Linked DNA regions of Homo sapiens: region 2 is linked to region 1. The links are contacts of gene promoters, found by promoter capture Hi-C in blood cells and fetal thymus (Javierre and others, 2016). All regions are on one chromosome and are shown on one strand. Each heading gives the region's core, a stretch centred on a gene start or on the middle of the fragment in contact. The rest is flanking DNA. Distances are from core to core; before and after follow the strand shown. Region 1 holds the start of ARHGEF17 (Rho guanine nucleotide exchange factor 17). Region 2 holds the start of FAM168A (family with sequence similarity 168 member A).

Evidence for each region. Contacts are between HindIII fragments. The CHiCAGO score rates a contact against its expected background, and 5 or more counts as called.
Region 2: a contact is called between the fragment with the promoter of FAM168A here and the fragment with the promoter of ARHGEF17 in region 1, in 1 of 17 cell types (neutrophils). The highest score is 5.3, in neutrophils.

What each region holds. Positions count from the first base shown.
Region 1 is chr11:73,304,340-73,310,666 of GRCh38, reverse strand. It overlaps ARHGEF17 (Rho guanine nucleotide exchange factor 17), which reads right to left and starts at 2,391. Exons shown (of 21, transcript NM_014786.4): 1 at 1-2,391. The coding sequence starts at 2,028. It overlaps ARHGEF17-AS1 (ARHGEF17 antisense RNA 1), which reads left to right and starts at 1,306. Exons shown (of 3, transcript NR_147696.1): 1 at 1,306-1,995; 2 at 2,103-2,785; 3 at 3,111-3,156. RefSeq lists enhancers at 576-1,396, 1,402-2,279 and silencers at 1,700-1,919, 2,150-2,479, 2,880-3,019. The HindIII fragment of the contact is 10,810 bases long and covers 1-6,327 here.
Region 2 is chr11:73,594,936-73,601,262 of GRCh38, reverse strand. FAM168A (family with sequence similarity 168 member A) reads left to right here and starts at 3,151. Exons shown (of 8, transcript NM_015159.3): 1 at 3,151-3,340. RefSeq lists silencers at 2,708-2,937, 3,068-3,197 and an enhancer at 3,089-3,817. The HindIII fragment of the contact is 4,267 bases long and covers 1-3,929 here.

The DNA of each region.
Region 1 (6,327 bases), core at 1,142-3,641:
GGCCGAGGATGAGGAAAGAGGTCGCCACATCCCTGTGGTACCCAGGCCGCAAAATGCTGCAACAGGAGGCTCAGGGTCTGCCCCAATGCCTTCATCTGTCAGACTGGACTCAGGGCCTGAGAGCTCCTCCTGGGACCGCTGCCCTCGGGTCACATCCCCTGCCCAGTCAGGGCTTCCAGGGGGGGCATCGCTTCCATCATCTTGTTGGGCACCCATGCGCTGGATCTTCTCAAAAACCTGGCGGGCCTCCTGCACATATTGGTCCTGGACGATGAGGGGCAGCGGATCCTCCTCGGCACCAGGGCCTGTGAGCAGGAGCTCGGAGGAGCTGGACTTCAGAGCACTGGTGCGGGGCAGGCGGCGGGCCATGGGCTTCTCAGAGCAGGTGAATGACTTTGCTCTCCGCAGAGTGGCTGTCAAGTCCTTGAGTGTGGGGCGCGTGCCAGGTGATGCTGGGGCTGGGATGGGTATGGGTTCAAGTTGCCCCACAGGGCCACCTGCGGATGGTGAGTCTCTGCCATCTAGGGGGTTGCTTCCACGGTCCCCGGAGCTCCCACCAGGTTTTCGGACCCTCAGCTCTGAAAGGTCTGAGCGCAGGAAACTGAGAAGCGTCAGGGTCTCTGAGGCGATATCTGGATTTGACAGGGACTTCCGCTGTCGACTCTTTTCAGGCTCAAATCCTCCATCCCTCAATGCCCTAGAGGTGCCTCCAGGTCCTTTGGCACGGGTTCGAGCCTGGGACCGCAGGAGCCCTTCCCCAGCTCCAAAGCTAGGGGAGCGGTACACGCCCCAGCCCCCAGAACCCCTACTAGACCATAGGTCGTCGTCCTTGAGGGTCTCCGTGCTGGAATAACGGCTGCTACCGCGGGAGCCTGCGGGGCTGGCCAGGTACGAGGGAAAGCTCACCTTGGCCACACGGAAAGCTCCTCCCACAGAGTCAGACATAGGCCGAAGTCCCTCCTGGGGACCTGGGACGCAGGGCGGAGAGCCACTACCCCACTCCCGGAGTCCTTCTTCTCTAGGGGCTCTTGGAGATGTTGGGGGCTCAGGGCTCCCAGAAACCCCTGCTGAGTTCATGCTGCTTAGATTTAACCCATCACTGTCAGGCCTGCAGTCCTGATCCAATAGGGAGCTTCCAGGCCTGAGCCCGGGCCTCCCTCCCCAGCGGTGGCCGCCCTCACCGTCTCGGTCGTCGTCACTGCCCGAGGAGTGGCCGCCGTGGTAGGCCGGACTCTGGGCTCCAGGCAGCTGCGGCGGGCCCTCCTCTTCCTCCTCGCTGGAGCTGGCAGCACGACTGCGGCTGACAGGATAGGAGGCGGCGATGGAGGAGGAGGAGCAGGAGGCCCGGGCCCCGGCCTGCGGTTGGGAGAAGATATGCCAAGAATGTAAACCATCCGCTGGACGCTGCGCCCGCTCCTGTTGCTGCTGCGGCCGGCGCAGCCTCCCTTCGGTCTCCGGCCCGGTCAGGGGCCGCGCCGAACGCAGACCCGCCAGGGGGAAGCATGTCCGAGGGGGTGGCGTCGGTGGCTGCCGCGACTCCCGAGCCGGAGGCTCCCACGCGGCACCGTCGGGGCTGGGCGTTCCTGGGGATTCAGAGTCGGCGCTGGGCCTCCTGGAGCCAGGACCGCCGAAGAGCTTGCGCATCTCGGTGACGCTGGGCCAGGCTCCTCGCGCTGGGCCCTCGGCCGCTTCTTCCGCGGCCGCGGGTAAGACGCCTCCGTCTCGGGTCCCAGCGGAGCCGTCGTCCAGACGCGGCGCGTCGAAGCGCCGGGAGAGCTGGCGAACCGACGGCGAGAGGCTGCGGAGCGGGCGCGGCTGCGCGGGGGCGGCCAGGGGCCCAGACGCCAGCTTGGACACGCGCCGAGAGGGCTGGCCCCGGGCAGCCGTGGTCGGCCGGCACGAGGCGCGTCGCCTCAAGCCGGGGGTGTCCGTGTCCTCCTCCCTCAGCCCGGGGCCGCCGCTCCAGCGCTCCAGCAGCTTGAACGAGACGCTGCGGTAAAGCTGGGGCCGGGGTGCCCCGTCCGCCATAGTGGCGTAACTCACTCCGGGGGGGCTGGCCTCGGGCAGCCGCGGCCAACCCCCCCTGCGCCCCCACTCCCTAGGAGCGCAGCGGCCCACGCCGAAAGCAGCGCACGGGAGTGTGGGAAGAGGACGCAGAGACCGGAGCAGAGGTTTCTCTGCCGCGGCTCAAGTTTCTGTGGCCACCGGCCGCAACGTCTCCATCCCGGGCGGCCCCTCCCGCCTCAGCGCCGACCCCCAGGCCCAGCCCCCGCCGCGGCTGGAGCGACCAGGGGCACCGCGGCACCGCCTGGGCGGGATCCCAGCGCTTGGTTCCTCGACTCTGCGTCCGCCTGCCCAACGCCCTTGGCTGCTCGCTCCTGGCACCCTTTTGTTGCAAATAAACTTTGCGGCAGAGGCAAGGGGGCGGGGGGCGGGGCCTCGCGCCCAAAAGAGGGGGTGGGCTCCGGGCGTGCGCGAGCCTGGGAACCGCGTGGTGGGAGGGAATCAGGGAGGAGCCGAAGAAGAAAAAGCCTGCTGGAGGACTTGCAGACTGAGGCGACCCTCTGGCCCTCCAGAGAGGTCCCTCGGGAGCCCAGCAGGCCGAGCTGCCCCCAGGGAGTCGCTGAGACACACACAACCGCTGAGCGTGCTCAGCTCCGCAGACTCGCAGCCAGGGCGCCGCGTCCACCGCGGGCCACCAGCCTCCGCGCGGAAACACCTCCTGCCCAGGGGCTCCAACATGGCAACCTCGGACTCACAAACTCTCGTACACACTGACACTCAGGTGCACGCAGACGCACACTCTCTGGGCCGGGAAAGGGGTGGGACTCGGCGCCAGGGAGAGCCCGGGGAGCCGCGGGCTAACTGAAGGGTCCGTCGCGCCCTACTCCCCGCCCAGGCCACGCCTCCTCCCCTTCCCTCCCCCTCCCCGCCCGCCCTCTGCGGCGAATTTAGCTGTAGCCACGCCCTTGTCCCCCCATCTCGCTCCCAAGCGCCCCGCCCATCCCACCTCCCAGCCGCCTGTCCGGCTCCGACCGGCCCCCAACCCGCCCAGCGTTGCTCCAGAAGTCCCACCCTTCACGACCGCGCCCCCACCCCTACTTTTCCAGCTGCCACGCCTTCCACCTGCCCCTGCAGTCTGGCGGCTCTTCTCCTGGACTCTCCGCCTGGATCCCCGAGCCTTTTCTTCTTGCTCTGGAGTACGCGGCTCTTGCGCCCCCTCGCGGCGTGATTTTCCCAACGCACGGAGTCCTGGACGGATAAAGCAGCACCCATCCCCCAAAAACGGAGAGTTGTGAAAACTTCCTTTCAGTCGTTACCTAATCCCCTTAGTCTTTTTCAGACCTTCGCAAAGCGCACTGCCCCTTCTTAGGCCTTATACACAAAAGGAGCTTCGACGGGAACGCCCTCGACTTCCCACTGCCAAACCTATACTCTTACCCGCAGCTGCTTCACCTTCTTGGCAGGAAAAGTGTCGGTTGTTTCTCTGGCTTCACGCTGATCCCTCGCTTGAGCTCCCCTCCCGCCCCTGCCTCCGTCTGAGTCTCACATTGTTCTCGGTATTGGGGCATCATCCCCTTCCGCATTCCCACCTGCCTCTAGATCCCATTCATCCTCCCGGCCCAACTAACGAATGAACGAACGAATGAAAATGTATGGAGTACCTATAATGTATGGGCAATATTATTTAACTTATTTTTTAAAATCCACAAACCACCCTTGGGGACAAATATTATTACCCCTTCTCTGTGGACCGTGAAGGAGAAGTAACTTTGACCACTATGCAAGTCAGGAAATAGCAGCTCCTGCTAAAATTCAGATTTCAGGGGCTTCAAACACCATGCTCCTCCAGCCAGCTCTGAGATGCACCCCCAAATCCTGATGAAGAAGGAGGTTCTCGTTCCTTTGAGCCCCCAGTCTCCTCCTTCTCCTCCTTGGGCCTGAGCTCACTCTCCTCAGGAACAGAGGATAACCTGGTCTGACCCATGCCCCTCCAGCGCTGCCCAGCCTTCTTCAGGCCTGGTCAAACTGCCCTGGCCCCTCCAACCCCCAGTAGCAAGGCCTCGGGGACACATAGTTAGGTCAGCAGTCTGTGCATTACCCAGCCAACCCCACTGCCACCAGGTCCAGCCAAGGAGATGTAGCTGGGCCAGACTAGGCTAGGAGACGGGGTTCAGAGGAGAGGGGCAGGCAGGAGGATAGGAAAGGATGGTAGACACCCAGGGATTGCCTGACTACCGAATGAGAGAGAGAGGACTCAGCCGGGACTCCAGAACCTGCTTGCTACTCATATACCCCACAGGATGAGGAGGTCACTCTCCACTCTCTGGGCAGCCTCTTGAGTTGTGGAATATCTCTGTAGCAAGAAAGTGCTTCCTCTCTGTGTTGAGACCAGCATCCAGGGAGTCCCTCACCTCAACCTCATCTCAGCTCTGCCTCAAGGGGGCCAAGGAGTAAATCTCTCCCTTTTCTCTAGGAAATTGATAAAAGAGAGCCCTGCTGGCCTGTGCCTCTCTGTTCGGCCTTACTCTGTGACCTTGGGTAAATCCCTGCACTTGCTGGTGTCTGAAAAGTGAGGAGTGGGGTGTCTGAAAAGTGAGGAGTGGTTCAGGTTCCCCAAGAGTGCCCTCTCTGGCTCTGGCATTTGATGTCAGACTCTCACCTCCTTTAGTATTTTCTTTCTGCTCTTTGGGGCAAGTTTTGGTGTGTGCTGTGGGGTGAGTTGTGGAGGGGTGAGTTGGGGAGGGGTGAGTTGTGGAGGGGTGAGTTGTGGAGGGGTGGGTTGTGGAGGGGTGGGGGACAGGACTCTCATCCCAGGAGTCACTCTCTCCCCCCATAATGATGACTCTTACTATCTGAAATTTGTACTTTTCCACCTCCCTGTCAGTTCTGGGACAGAAACCCTTATCCCATATCACAGATGGGCAAGTGGATAGAGAGGAGTGGAGGTTCAGGTCATGGGCTCCCAGAGTCCTGTGGCTTGGCCTTGAGGTGAGCTGGCTGGGGCCTTTGGCTCAGGAATCCCCTTGGTGGGGAGGGGGGTGTTTAAGGATCTAGACTGGGTCTCTGTCCAAAGGGAAGCTCACCCAATCTGAGAGTGGCTTGATTGCTTCCAGTGCTTCAGGAACCCTCCCACCCCCAGCTCCTTATGATCCAGTATAAGACAAAGTTATCTTCCATGAACAGAAGAGATCTGGAATTTTAATGGTGCTTGGTAATTATGTACAGCAATTTTTAGCCCCAAGAAGACTTATTTGATAGGGGGCTGGGAGCACTGGGCACCAGAGTGGAGAGAAACCCTACGCTGGGGTTTTGAAGCCAGGCTCACCTTCCGCAGCTCACCCCCTTTTCTCTGGGCCCCAGGCTCCTCACCTATGAAAGGGTAATGAAAACAATAGCCCATCTACCCAGTGAGTCATGGTGATCTAGTGAGGTGAGGACCGTGGAATCCCTTGGGGAAATCAAGATGGGAAGGTTTTGAAGGTCACAGGTCATGGCCAGTGATGGGCTTTGGTGGGCTTCGGGTACAGATAAGTCCCCAGCTCATGATATTTCAACTTAATGATTTTTTGACTTTATGATGATGCAAAAGCTATGTACATCCAGTAGAAACCATACTTTGAGCACACATATAATCATTCTGTTTTTCACTTTCAGTATTCAATAAATTACATGAGATATTCAGCATTTTATTATAAAATAGGCTTTGTGTTAGATGATTTTTGTCCAACTCTAGGCTATGGAAGTGTTCTGGGCCTGTTTAAGGTGGGTTAGGCTAAGCTCTGATGTTTGGTAGGCTAGGTGTATTAAATGTCTTTTTGACTTATAATATTTTCAGTGGGTTTATTGGGATGTAACCTCATCGTAAGTCGAGGAGCAACTGTACTTAAGAGGGAGAGAAATGATGAGTGCGGGGACAAGAAGCAATGAGCTCCATGAAGGAGCTGTCTTAGGGGGAAATCTGACTCTTCTGACTCCATTGCAAAGCCAAATAGAAACTATCTGAGATTGCCCCCTTTCCTATATAATTAGACCTTAAGCACACAGGATTAAATTCTTTATAATATTTTGATAATGATACATTCTCATCAGTTATTTAATTGGCTTTCGCCAAAAAACAAAACAATACAACTAGGACCTTTAAAATAATTCACATCTCATTATACAGTTCTTCTGCTCCCATCCTCCTGCTGTCCCACCACACAGAAAATCAGAAAATCATCATCTCAAATCCTGTGTTCAGCATTCTCTTGCTTTCCTTCAAACATATTCCTTCAAACTATATATTCCTTCAAACTATATCTTTTCATTTTAGTTGTTCTTAAC
Region 2 (6,327 bases), core at 1,902-4,401, 290 kb before region 1:
GTGAGTCCTGAGGGACAGGAGTCTAACTAGAGTGAGGTGGGGTGAAGCTAGAGACGCTGCAGCGGGATGGGGACTAAGTCATCCTCTGAGCTAAGCAACCTGGGCTTTTTCCTGTAGGCCTGTAGCAGAGCTAAAGTGTCCTAGTTGTTCTTACAGAACACCAAGGAACAATGGCATATAAAATTGAAAATATCAAATTCTGCTGGGCGCAGTGGCTCATGCCTGTAATCTCAGTACTTTGGGAGGCCGAGGTGGGCAGATCACTTGAGTCCAGGACTTTGAGACCACCTTGGGCAACATGGCGAAACCCTGTCTCTATAAGAAAAAAAAAGAAAAAAGAAAAATTAGCCGGGCATGGTGGTGCCTGTAGTCCCCGCTACTTGGGAGGCTGAGGTGGGAGGATCACATGAGCCCAGGGAGTCGCTGCGGCAGTGAGCTGTGATCATGCCACTGAACTCCAGCCTGGGCGACAGAGCGAGACTCTGTCTCAAAAAATGAAAAAAGAGAAGAAAATATCAAGTCAAACAGGGCTTAAATGAAAAAAATCGTGAAATCAAAAATAATCTGATACTACATTCTGTATTCTAGAAGAGCTGGACACAAGGGTCAGAAGAAGAGAAAAACTTTTTTAAAGTGCAAGACATATAGCTTTGTGTAGGCAGAGCTGCATAGGCCCTTTACAATAACTCTGTACCTCTCTCTTCACTTCCTCTCCCCACCGTGATCTCTGGCCAACAGATTAGAAACCACTGCTATAAGAATTCAGATAAGCCGGGAGCGGTGGCTCACGCCTGTAATCCCAGCACTTTGGGAGGCCGAGGCAGGCGGATTACCTGAGGTCAGGAGTTCAAGACCAGCCTGGCCAACATGGTGAAACCCCATCTCTACTAAAAATACAAAAAAAAATTAGCCAGGCATGGTGGCACATGCCTGTAATCCCAGCTACTCGGAAGGATGAGGCAGGAGAATTGCTTGAGCCCGGGAGACGGAGGTTGCAGTGAGCCGAGATTGCACCACTGTACTCCAGCCTGGCTGACAGAGCAAGACTCTGTCTCAAACAAACAAACAAACAAACAAACAAACAAAAAAGAATTCAGATATAAGGAAAACCAGTGTGTCTAAAATATGTTCTAGGGAAGGTAGGACTTTGGCTTGAGTTTGAAGAATGAGTAAGAGAAAAGGAGAAAATGGGTGTGGAAAGACCAGAAATGGAAAAATTTTGAGAAGACGCATTGAAAATTGAGAAAATTCTCCCTTCCAACTTTATGAATTGGAAGTGACTACTATTATTTGTTTTAATAGTGGAACTATTAAAACCAGGCAGGCACAGTGCTGAAGCATGAATGAGACAATGGGAAGCCATGGAAAGCATCTAGGCAGCAAAGAAAGGTTGTTAGATTTGGAAATTATGTTTTTTGGAAGTAGCACAGCTTAAAAAATTGTCCAGGTGTAGTGTGGCTCACACCTGTAATCCCAGCACTTTTGAGAGCTGAGGCAGGAGGGTCTCTTGAGGCCAGGAGTTTGAAACCAGCCTGGGCAATATAGTGAGACGACGTCTCTTACAATTAAAACAAAACAAAAAAGAAAACAAAAAACAGTCGTTATGTGCTCCTTTTAAACAATTCAAACAATATGAAAACAAAAATTACAGTCGGGCATTGTGGCTCATGCCTGTAATCCCAGCACTTTGGGAGGCTGAGGCGGGCAGGTCAGGAGGTCAAGAAATCGAGACCATCCTGGCCAATATAGTGAAACCCCATCTCTACTAAAAATACAAAAATTAGCTGGATGTGGTGGCGCGCGCCTGTAGTCCCAGCTACTCAGGAGGCTGAGGCAGGAGAATCGCTTGAACCCGGGAGGCAGAGGTTGCAGTGACCTGCGATCGCCCCCACTTTACTCCAGCCTGGCTATAGATCCAGACTCCGTCTCAAAAAACAAAAAAAACCTACGTGCAATCTGACACCCTTTCCCCCAAGATAATCATTGCTAATATTTTGGCGAACCTCTTTCCTGAAATCTCTCCATGCTTGTAGAATATTGTGTCAAACCTCACATAAATGCACTCGTGTAGACATGCTGTTGTGTAATCAACTTTTTCCCCGAAGAATAAATTGTGAATAGCTTTTCATGTCAATAGATTTATATCATTTTAAATGGCTCCTTAGTATTGCATTGTATGTATATGTCACGTCTTATTTAAGCAGCACCCTATCGATGAACATTTACTCCCTTCATAATTAACTACGTCATATAACAACTTTGTGCATTCATCTTTTCGAAATTGTTCGATCATCTTTTTAAGGTAAATTCTTAAAAGTAATGGAGCTGGGTCAAGAAGAGGATATGCCCTTTGTCGTTTGGATTCAAGTTGCCGAATCGTCCTCAAATTTGCAGGGAGACCAGCGAGGAAGCTCCGGCATTAGTTCTGGTGAGAGACAGCTGAAACGGAGATGGCGAGGGATGAACAGAATCACAGGTGATCTAGCCCATCAAGGCCCATCCTCGGTGGGCTGGCGTATTCCTTCCCTTTTGCCTCTCTTTCACTTCTTTTTCTTAACATGGAGGAAGAACCGAGAACTCCATCTCCCAGCATTTCGCAGGGACCACACTCCCTGGGAACTGTAGTACCGGGTCTGAGAAGGGTCCGGAAGGAGAATAGGAAGCTGAGGGGCATGCTGGGAGGTGTAGTCCAGAGACAGAGACGAGAGGGAGAGGGAGAGAGGGAGAGAGGGAGAGAGGGAGAGACAGAGAGTGTGTGTGTGTGTGTGGGCGGGGGGAGGGGGGTGTCTATGCAAAGAGGATGGAGACGCTGCGAGTACGGCCCCTTGGGGATGGGGCCTCGGGCGACCTGACTTTCCTCACAGGTGGTCTTTGAGTCTACAAAATTCGCCAGCGGATGGTTGGCTTTATTCCACTGTCCGTGACCGGAGAGGGCGCGGCCCCTCTGCACCGGGCTCGCGGCGGGAGGCGCAGGCCGCGCGCGGGCTAAAGCAGGGCATGCCGGGAGTTGTGGTCCCGGCGCTCTGAGGCTGTGGGACGTGTCGCGGCGCCGCGCCGGCTCCTCCTTCCCTGCCCTTCTGAGCGGTCCCCCGCCTCCTCCCTCCGCCTCCTCCTCCCTCGCCCGCAGCCGAGCGTCCCCTCCCCCCACCCGTCGGGCTCCTCGGCGGCTACTGCAGAGGATTCAGAGCCGAGTCGCTGAGGAGGAGGCTCCGGTCCCCGCGCGCCATCCGCCACCCTACTGGACACGGGCGAGAGCGTCGCCGCCGTAGCCTCCGGAGAAGACAAGGGCATCGCCGCCTCAGCCGCCGCCGCCGCCGTTTTCGCCTGCAGCTGCTCACCGGTGAGGAGACTCCCCCCGCCACAGGGTCCGCTGGTCCTGAGTCTGGGCCGGTGGCGCTGGCGAGAATGAGAGGGGAGGCTGCGGAGCCCCCGTGCAGGTTGGGGGGAGGGGGTTGAGGTCGCGATGGAACGGCGGGCTGGCGGGGGAGACTTGTCCAGGCGCTGGCCGGGGGTGGGGTGAGGGTGGGACCCAAGCAGGTTGGGGGGCGGGCGACAAGGGAGGAGGACTTTTGATGGAGAATAACCCAACCTGGGACAGGAGAGTGGGGTGGGGGCGTCGGGTTGGAATTCGGGATGGTCTTGGGGCGAGGTGGAAGATGAGACTAGGGTGGGATGGCTTTTAATGGGGGAGGGGACTGAATGAGGGTGGTGATTTGGGTTTGGCCTGGAGCAGTTGACAGCTTGGGATCTGAGCTGGGGTGAGGGGCAGGGGAATGATTTCAACGGAGAGTGAGTGGCATGTACAGGGTTGGTTAGGGCCCTGCGTAGTGTTAATTCAGAAGGGTGGAATTTGGGGTGGACCTGGGGCAGGATGATGGAGGTGGCAGGAGTTGGGGGTGAGGGGCTTGGCATGGGTTGAGACCCAAGCTTGAAGTGGGTGTTTGTCATCTGGGGCTGGTGGAATTTGTGGAGACTTATGGAATAGCATGGGTTAGGATAGAGCAGAAGAGTGCAATTTGGGGGTTTCCTGGGGTGGGCTGATGGAGGTTGGAATAGGAGTTGGTGGAGGTGGGACATTCAGTGAGGGGAGTGTGATGGTGAGCTGGCAGGAAGGGGCCACATTGGAAGTCAGGCCCGAAATGGGAGGACAGGGATGGAAATGGAGTGTGGGGCACAGTGGGTTGGATTTAGGGTGATCTTACAATCACTGGAAAGGGCATGGTGGCTCCTTGGTTGCAGAGTCAAGGCAGAGGGCACATAAAACATCACTGGGCTGCTTTCATTGAAAGGATAGCGGCAGGGGTGAGCAAAGTTGGGGGATGGTATCTTGAAGAAAATATCCCTTGGCCAAGGTGGCAGAGGGAGTTTTGGAGAAGGACTTTCGGAGATGAGCTGGTAGGCCTGGGGAGGTGGTTGCTGATGGTGAGGTGGCACAGGGGAAATTTAAGGAATGGGAGACCTGGAGCTGTTGGTATGGATGGGGCAGAGAGGATGGAGAGGGACAGTGAGCTGTGCTGGAGAGCAGGGGGGAATTGGGTTGGATTATTTTGGTGGTGAAGGATTGGGGTGGCCTCCAAGAGACACATGAGGGTTAAGGGTTGGAATACTTAAATGAACAGCCTTGGTGGCTGTGGTTGGGTGAGAGGCAGTAAGGCTGTTAGAGGGGACTTTGCAGGGGACACGGAAGAGACCTTCTCATTCTTAGGGGCCATTTTAATCTGTTCGGGTGATGTTTTTGTTTGTTTTATTTATATTAGTAAAATTTGGAAGTCAAGTCAGCCCAAAGGGTAAAGTTGAAAGGGGATTTAGTTAAGGTAGAATTAAGGAGGGGAGGGTGTCTTCTGTTATTTGTATATCATAAAAAGTAAGTTGGGGGAAAAAAGCATACTTCCAAACTAAAGGTGGGAGAAGATAAACTGGAATGTAATGGATATCTTTCTATATGATGTCTCTGCCTTTTCTTTTCCCCTCTCCTCCTGGTGTATTTAAAAACTAGCCAGGCATTTTGAAATTTAAATAGATTTGATGAGCTTGAGATTGTTAAGGGTGCATTCCTTGCTTGAGAACTAATGAGTGAGCCTGAAAAATATGAGACTGAATTTATTTTGTAGGTAGGTAACAAGCACATAGGCAAAAAGAGCTTGGGCCTTTTTTACCCCCTCTTTAAATTGATTGCTTGAAGACGCCATTTGTTAGTGTCCTGGTTTGCAAGGCAATTAGGCCCATCATTGTATTGCAGGCTAATAATCCTGAGATGAGTCTTGGCACCACCGCTTTATGTAAACAGAGAAGACAGGAAATATGGAAATGTCATAAATATTCATTGGTGAGATGGTTTGGTACTGATGGAGTTTTTCATATGATTGTCTTTTGACATTGATAAGATTTAGAATAATTGGACTGTATTTCTAAAGATTGAATTTTCTTCCAAAGGAATTCAGGTGATCAGAATTCTGTCAGATGTGAATAAATAAAGCATATTGAGTCATTTTTATTTTATTTTTTGGGGAATGATGTTGATGTAGTCGCATTGTATTAACTACAGAAACAGCATCTCCACCTATTCATCAGAAATTCGATTTAAACCTTAGCGATATGCTCATTCTTAGGGCAGAACGATGATAATGGAAGGTACACAGGAGTGCAAATGGAGGGAACATCTTTAGAGAAACAGTTCTATGGACCTAATTGCATTAACTGTGATAATATGTTAAACATAAAGTGGCTGTTGATTAGAGCTCAGACTGAAAAAAAATGAGGAGGGATGTAAAGAAGATAAAATTGGCACCATTGGGATCGAAATAATTCTTTTTATTTTTGTTCAAGCTTCAGAATTTAGCTCGCAAACAAACCATTTTCCTTGGCTTTCACGATTGAGCATATAAAAATACCATTTAGAATCTTTTTTTTTTAGCTCCAAAATGGGCAGAATGATGGAACGTTGGACTTATCCTTTGAATTGAAAGTGTTTTGTAATGAGGAAGCTTTCTGTATTATAATAAAGATCAGGTTTGAGCAGTTACCTGTAATTCAGTGAGACTGTAATCTAATGTGAGCATTTCTCTCATAACTTTACTCTGAGGTCTAGACGTTGTTTTTGCAGATCTGCAGGCTTGGTCTAGAGGTGGGATGTTTATATTAAAGCCCTAGCTTTTGAAAGCCCAAAATGAAAAGTGCCTGGGAGAAATGTGTTGGTGGATTTTTTTTTTCCACAGCCGTGGTTACCTGTGTAGTAGTAATGTGTTTTTGTATCTTTACCTCATTTGATCCTCCCGATATCTTGGTGAGAAGAGAGCAGATGGAGGTATTGATAGACAGAAGCCTTTG